Regions from separate parts of the Homo sapiens genome. Here region 2 is linked to region 1. Evidence: promoter capture Hi-C in 16 types of primary human blood cells and fetal thymus (Javierre and others, 2016). All regions are on one chromosome and are shown on one strand. The core of a region is centred on a gene start or on the middle of the fragment in contact, and the rest is flanking DNA. Distances in the headings are between cores, read along the strand shown.

Region 1 (4,157 bases), core at 232-2,731:
ACTTGCGAAAAACGTGAAAGCACAGTACCAGAATCCAGAGATCTGAATGCAGCAGCATACTCTCCTGTATATCATGCTTTAGCTTTTCTGACTAGCCACACTCAATGTAGCATGTATCTTCATATCAACCCCACAAACCCCATTCTCTGAACATTTTGAGCTCCTCTAATCCCCCCAGAGTATCCATTGCTTATTTTAAAATTTCAGGGCTAGTTCTACCAAATCATCTTATCTGAGAATTTTTTTATTTCTAGAGACAGAGGATCACTCTGTCACTCAGGTTGGAGTGCAGCAGCACAGTCATAGCTCACTGCAACCTCGAACTCCTGGGCTTAAGCAACCCTCTCACCTCAGTCTCTTAAGTAGCTAGGACTACAGGTGTACACCATCATGGCTGACTTTTTTTTTTTTCTTTTTTTTTTTTTTCTTGTTTGTTTGGTAGAGGTGGGGGCAGGGGTCTCACTTTGTTGCCCAGGCTGGTCTCGAACTTCTGGCCTTAAGCAATCCTCCCGCCTCCACCTCCCCAAATTCTGGGATTACAGGCATGAGCCAGTGTGCCCAGCACAAAATCTTTACCAACTTTAAAATATAATTTAAAAAAATCTCTTAAATGCCTTCCACATAGATATTGATTTTTCTTTCATTTCTCTTGTCTTGGTAAATCCTCTAGGAATGCTCTCTGAAAAGCAGCTTAATTCATCATGCAGTTGCCTTCATCACCATCACTTGTTGAAAAGTCTTATTAGTATGTAAAGCAGTTCTAATTTGGAGCTGTAAAATTGCTTCTAAAAACTCGTAATAGAATAAACTGAGAGTCATCCATAATTAGATTTTTTTAATAGGACTTCTAACTTGTTTTCATTATCCAGCTGTGTTTGAACTCAGCCAGCTGTTGATGGAACTGAGGTGGTTGTAAGGGTTGGGGAAAAGAAGAGGAAGCTCATCTCTGCAGAGTGGGTAGGGGAAGCTTTAGTTCTCAGTTTAAAACAGTGGTTCTCAAAGTGTGGTCTCCCAACCTGCAGCATCAGAGTCTCATGGGAACTTGTTAGAAATGATTTCTTGGGCCCTACTCCAGACCCACTGGATCCGGCCATCAGGTGAAGTTCAAAGAACTTGGTTCAGATGTAGTGTTCACTAAATTACAGACAGCAGTCAAGATTTTAGGAAGAGCTGGTTGAAAATAATTGCCTTGACTGGCTCTAGTGACCCCCCAAGGAACACATGCCACTTACATGTATGTTCTCTTCATTCATCATTTATGGGTATATTTGTATTACTCCACAGGGCTGACGATTTGGTATTAGACTTGCTAATGAGCAGCAGCCATGTGCTCCTGCTATCTGACAGTCGGTACAGTCACAAGTATATTGTATGCAGCAGAGAAGAGCTTAACAGCCAGCCTCCTTCCACATTCTGCTCTCAGGAAATAAGCAAGGGGAGGATCCAGAAGTGTCATTTGACACTGACGACAGAGTACTTATTTCCTATGCAAAAGAGCCCAGGCAGAAAGACAAACCTAAATAAGAATCTAACTTCTGTAAGAAGCTGTGAAGAGTGATGCTGGCAGCTGCCTTTGCAGACTCTAACTCCAGCAGCATGAATGTGTCCTTTGCTCACCTCCACTTTGCCGGAGGGTACCTGCCCTCTGATTCCCAGGACTGGAGAACCATCATCCCGGCTCTCTTGGTGGCTGTCTGCCTGGTGGGCTTCGTGGGAAACCTGTGTGTGATTGGCATCCTCCTTCACAATGCTTGGAAAGGAAAGCCATCCATGATCCACTCCCTGATTCTGAATCTCAGCCTGGCTGATCTCTCCCTCCTGCTGTTTTCTGCACCTATCCGAGCTACGGCGTACTCCAAAAGTGTTTGGGATCTAGGCTGGTTTGTCTGCAAGTCCTCTGACTGGTTTATCCACACATGCATGGCAGCCAAGAGCCTGACAATCGTTGTGGTGGCCAAAGTATGCTTCATGTATGCAAGTGACCCAGCCAAGCAAGTGAGTATCCACAACTACACCATCTGGTCAGTGCTGGTGGCCATCTGGACTGTGGCTAGCCTGTTACCCCTGCCGGAATGGTTCTTTAGCACCATCAGGCATCATGAAGGTGTGGAAATGTGCCTCGTGGATGTACCAGCTGTGGCTGAAGAGTTTATGTCGATGTTTGGTAAGCTCTACCCACTCCTGGCATTTGGCCTTCCATTATTTTTTGCCAGCTTTTATTTCTGGAGAGCTTATGACCAATGTAAAAAACGAGGAACTAAGACTCAAAATCTTAGAAACCAGATACGCTCAAAGCAAGTCACAGTGATGCTGCTGAGCATTGCCATCATCTCTGCTCTCTTGTGGCTCCCCGAATGGGTAGCTTGGCTGTGGGTATGGCATCTGAAGGCTGCAGGCCCGGCCCCACCACAAGGTTTCATAGCCCTGTCTCAAGTCTTGATGTTTTCCATCTCTTCAGCAAATCCTCTCATTTTTCTTGTGATGTCGGAAGAGTTCAGGGAAGGCTTGAAAGGTGTATGGAAATGGATGATAACCAAAAAACCTCCAACTGTCTCAGAGTCTCAGGAAACACCAGCTGGCAACTCAGAGGGTCTTCCTGACAAGGTTCCATCTCCAGAATCCCCAGCATCCATACCAGAAAAAGAGAAACCCAGCTCTCCCTCCTCTGGCAAAGGGAAAACTGAGAAGGCAGAGATTCCCATCCTTCCTGACGTAGAGCAGTTTTGGCATGAGAGGGACACAGTCCCTTCTGTACAGGACAATGACCCTATCCCCTGGGAACATGAAGATCAAGAGACAGGGGAAGGTGTTAAATAGATTTAAGTTTCAAAGCAAAACAAACTGTGATTATTGTATTTACTTGTACTGCTGCTTATCAATATTGCTGACTTTACAAACTGATATAATTATTACCATTAGGAATTATAAAAATATTTCACAATCTACACTTTCCAAATGTGCAATGTGGTAAGTAGAGAACCATGTTAGAAGTAATAATTGTTTCAGAATTAGAACTTGGCTTCCCAAACAATTTAAGTGTTGTGTAAAGATGTTGCTGTCAAAGTGATTAGACAGCCTGGCTATTCTGTCATTTGTTCACAGTGGTTTTACTGGGTACCCCCTAGGACCAGCCCTGTAGTGGACCGGCTGGAGCCTGCAGTAGAGGTTCTGTCAAAGCTGAGCCCCTTTACCTTCAGTTTCACCCAGGACCTGCTAGTCCTAATTTTACCTACTAAATTGTATTTCACATAACCAAAGCTCAAAATCTACTTTCACTTGAGATTTTTAACACATTAATGATAAATTTTAATGCGTTCTTCATTTACTTAATAAGTGTTAATTTACTTGATGAAAAGTCCGTATCATAATGTTCATGACTGAAGGTCAAAGAAAAAGAAACAGCACCTTATTCCAATTCTGGACTCATTTCAAGCCATGGCTGGTTCTGGCCAAGTTTAAATAAATTCAAACTTAAACTAAAGCCTGCTTCAGTGAACTTTTTAAAGCTACCTGAATGAGTCTTCAGTTTCTAAGTCTAAGAATTGTAGCAGCTTTCCAATGACATTCAGTAGTCTGATATGGGGGAAAAAATACTTAAAAAAATGTCCTCTCTTCACTTCCAAAATGTGGGAAAGTTATTTTTCTATAAGCAGAAATGTGTTCCTCCTAATATCTCCTTTCTCCCAAGATAAACCATGGTTAATGATATAGGTATAGATTACTCCTCAAATACAAATAGAAGATGGAGATGGTGATCTTTCTTGTTAATGGTACTAAACTTACCCTTACTCAGAACATTGAACTTGAACCCTACTCAACTTTTAAAATACTATAGGCTAAGTTATAAAAATAATCTAGCAACCTGAGAAAGAGATTAATATCAAAAAGAGAAAATTCAACAAACCAAGACAGAATTTGGTTAAGAATACAAAATAAAAAGCATAAGGGCAATGCAGAAAGCAGTAAAACTGTGTACCCAGACATACGGTAAAATCTGAGTAACAGGCAATAACCATTCATTTTATAGCAAGGTAAAACATACCCAATAAAACATGATTATGATATATTTCTGCCCCTTTTAAGTATAATGACATTCACCCATGATTCTTGATTACTTTGTTATGGAACTCGGGTATTTTCACTGAAAGTTTCCCTCA
Region 2 (3,813 bases), core at 114-2,613, 270 kb after region 1:
TCTGCCCGTCTCGGCCTCCCAAAGTGCCACCGGACCCAGCGCCCAGCCTTGAATTTTTTTTATACCTGGTGAAATGTCCTTAAAAGCTGTAAAATTCCTAAAGATTTTAAATGCACCTTAATAGGACAGGCTACAAAGCAACCACTTGGTTTCACAGTAAGTCCCTAAAGGGAATATGGAGATGCTAAACTTCACTACCCTTTTCTTCGTATATAAGAAGCAAAAGAGGAAGTAACAAATCATACTGTATAACTGTGCACTTAGCATTAACCCTTTTAAAATTTACATTTCTAATGGATGTTGGGCTTAATACCTAGGTGGTAGGTTGATCTGTGCAGCAAACCACCATGGCACACATTTACCTACGTAAAAAACCTGTACATCCTACATATGTACCCTGGAACTTAAAATAAAAGTTGATGGGGAAAAAAAAGTACATTTAAAAAGAATCAGCTAATTATTACACTGCAAAAACAATATAACATATTTTCTTTTTTTCTTTTTTTTTTACTTTTTCTTTTTTTTTTTTTTTTTTGAGAGTCTCACTCTGTCGCCCAGGCTGGAGCTGCAGTAGCATGATCTGGGCTCACGGCGACCTCTGCCTCCCAGGTTCAAGCAATTCTCCTGCCTCAGCCTCCCTAGTAGCTGGGATTTCTGGTGCCCACCACCACGCCCAGCTAATTTTTTGCATTTTTAGTAGGGACGGGGTTTCACCATGTTGCCCAGGCTGGTCTCAAACTCCTGACCTCAGGTGATCCACCCACCTCGGCCTCCCAAACTTCTGGAATTACAGGCGTGAGCCACCGTGCCCAGCCCAATTTAACATAGTCTCAATGAGGGGAACAAATAGTTGTAAGCACACAATCAATGGCAGGGAATTACTTGTGAAGAGTGACCTATCAGCAGAATGTAGTAGTATGTTAAAGAGAAAAATGGGGCCAGGTGCAGTAGCTCACATCCATAAACCCAACAATTTGGGAGGCCAAGGTGTGAGGATTACTTGAGCTCAGGAGTTTGAGACCAGCCTGAGTAACATACCGAGACTCTGTCTCTACTAAATATTTTAAAAATTAGCCATGCATGGTGGCGCACAGCTGTAGTCCTAGCTATTTGGAAGGCTAGGGCAGGAGGATCACTTGAGCCAGAAGGTCAAAGCTGCAGTGAGCCACGATTGTGCCACTGTACTCCAGCTTAGGTGACAGGGTGAGATGCTGTCTTTAAAAGAAAAAAAATTAATTAAAAAATAGAAATACATACATATATAGAAAAATGGGAAGTACAATCTTAGTCCATATGACTACTTTAAATGTATGATACATCACTTGATGTACTAAGTATACTATCTAATTAAGTATGTCTAATTAATAATAGCTGTCTCAAAGTAAACTGGAAACCAAAAGGCTACTTTGCCCAATGTCTGTTTTTAAAACTACTGACAAAGAACATACAGAAAGGCCGAGCACGATGGCTCACACCTGTGATTACAGCACTTTGGGAGGCCAAGGCGGGTGGATCCCTTGAGCTCAGGAATTTGAGACCAGGCTGGGCAATAGGGTGAAACCCCGTCTCTACTAAAATTACAAAAATTAGCCAGGCGTAGTGGTGCATGTCTGTAATCTCAGCTACTCTGGAGGCTGAGGCACAAGAATCACTTGAACCCAGGAGGCAGAGGTTGCAATGAGCCGAGACTGCACCACTGCACTCCAGCCTGGGTAACAGAGAAAGCCTCTGCCTCAAAATAAAAAACAAATACCTCAAAAAGATGGCAATTAATCCAAATGTAGCCTGACTTTCTTAAACAATTCCTACTGAGTCTCTAAATACTACTTCTAAAGCAACAGAGTTCTTTAGACAAAGGGCTAATTCTAGGTCAGGGCAGAAAATTTATAAGATGAGCCTGGTACACCTTAGTATACCTTGTCCTTCCAGAAGCAAGAGAGTTATCAAAAACTGGCATGTCAAAAATTAAAAAAAAAAAAAAAAACTAGCAGAAGCCAACATGAAGAGGCTCCTATTGATTAAAGATGAGACAATCTGAACATCAAAAAAGACTATAATGGAGTGAAACATATCAAATGTTAAAAATTCATGAGTTCATAATGATACTTAAAAAAAAAACAGGAGTTCCCTTTGGAAAAAACTAGGGAATCAACTCATTCTTAAAATTGATAAATGAAAGAAAATACACATATATCATGTCTCTTCTGTAAAAACTGCATTTCAGGTTAACCAAATGGTTGTTATAGTCAACTATATGGAATGCTAGCAATAAATGTAGAAGAAACTATAGATTTAGAGTTTCACATACAACAGCAAATCCAGGCAATGATCAAAAATGGCTGTTGAAACCATCAAGCAAGTTTTAAAATGAATGGATCAGGATGAAAACACCTTTACACACTAATCAATATTTATAACACAGAAAGGAGACAACCAGACATCATGAGCATTATAATGTACTGTGTAGGAAGTACATAACGCCATCTATAAAATGTTCTTGCCAAAAAAAGAAAAAAATTGAATTTTATCAAATACCTAGCTCTAACTTCAAATTTACAGGTAATACAGGGGATAGAGGAATGTGTTAGATGACACCAGAAGATCAATCTGCCAAGTCTAGAATGTGAGAAAATTCTTTAGGACAAATGATCTATTTCTTCAACAAATAAACGCCAAGGGAGAAAAAAAAAGAAGTAAAGGATATTTCTATAAAGACTTAAGAAAGATATCAACTAAACGTAATGTATAACCCTGTTTGGATATAGCGTCAAATAAACCAGGTACAAAAGGGCATTTATGATACAATTGAGAAATATGAAAACTAACTGGATATTTCACAAGGAATAGTAAACTGTTACAAATTTTGGGGGGGACTGTGATAATAGTACTGTGTGTATGTAGGATTTTGTGTGTATGTATGTTTAATTCTTATCTTCAAAGATACATAAGTTTTTACAGATGAAATGCTACTATATTTGGGACTTATTCTAAAACAATCATGTCATTAAGCTGAATTTTGAGGAGCAATAAAAAAGAAAACAAAAATAAAAACTAAGGCCAGGTGTGATGGCTCACATCTGTAATCCCAGCACTTTGAGAGGCTGAGGCTGGAGGACTGCTTGAGCCCAGGAGTTTGAGACCAGCCTGGGCAACATGGGGAGCCCTCATCTCTACAAAAAATTTAAAAATCAGCCAGGTATGGTGGCACGCATCTGTGCTCCCAGCTACTCATGAGGCTGAGACAGGAGGCCTGCTTGAGCCCAGGAGGTCAAGACTGCAGTGAGCCAAGATTGTGCCACTGTACTCAAGGCTGGGTGACAGAGCAAGACCTTGTCTAAAAAAAAAAAAAAAAAACCACAGCACTAAAATAATCAAGTCAGGAGTAGGTTATGGATGAAGCAAGATTAACCACATTGATTAACTGTTGAAGCCAGAAATAAGTACATGAAGATTCACTACATTACACAGTCTACTTTTATGTATGTTGTATTTGAAATTTTCCATCATAATATGTTTTCTCTTTTAAATTTGAGATGAGGTCTTACTATGTTATCCAGGCTAAAGTACAGTGGCTATTCATAGGTGTGATCATAGCTCACTGCAGCTGGAACTCTTGGCCTCAAGGTATCTTCCCCTGCCTCAGCCTCCCAAGAGGCTGGGACTACAGTCACATGCCCACACGCCCAGCTACATTAAAAAATGTTCACTATCAAATAGGTTACAGTAATGGTGAAGATCAGTCTGTCAGAATTTATATTCATTCAGTTTAGTTTTGGTCAGAGTAGTTTCCAAACTGCAAACATCCCAAGTTCA

Evidence for each region. Contacts are between HindIII fragments. The CHiCAGO score rates a contact against its expected background, and 5 or more counts as called.
Region 2: a fragment that was not itself captured here is called in contact with the fragment with the promoter of GPR151 in region 1 in 1 of 17 cell types (monocytes); the score reaches 5.3 in monocytes.

The regions. Positions count from the first base shown.
Region 1 is chr5:146,513,514-146,517,670 of GRCh38, reverse strand. It overlaps GPR151 (G protein-coupled receptor 151), which reads left to right and starts at 1,481. Exons shown (of 1, transcript NM_194251.3): 1 at 1,481-4,157. The coding sequence starts at 1,558. The coding sequence ends at 2,817. The HindIII fragment of the contact is 3,538 bases long and covers 970-4,157 here.
Region 2 is chr5:146,246,406-146,250,218 of GRCh38, reverse strand. All of the region lies in intron 8 of RBM27-POU4F3 (RBM27-POU4F3 readthrough), which reads right to left. All of the region lies in intron 8 of RBM27 (RNA binding motif protein 27), which reads right to left. Among named protein-coding and RNA genes, the nearest start is that of RBM27-POU4F3, 45 kb to the right of the region's middle. The HindIII fragment of the contact is 5,614 bases long and covers 1-3,813 here.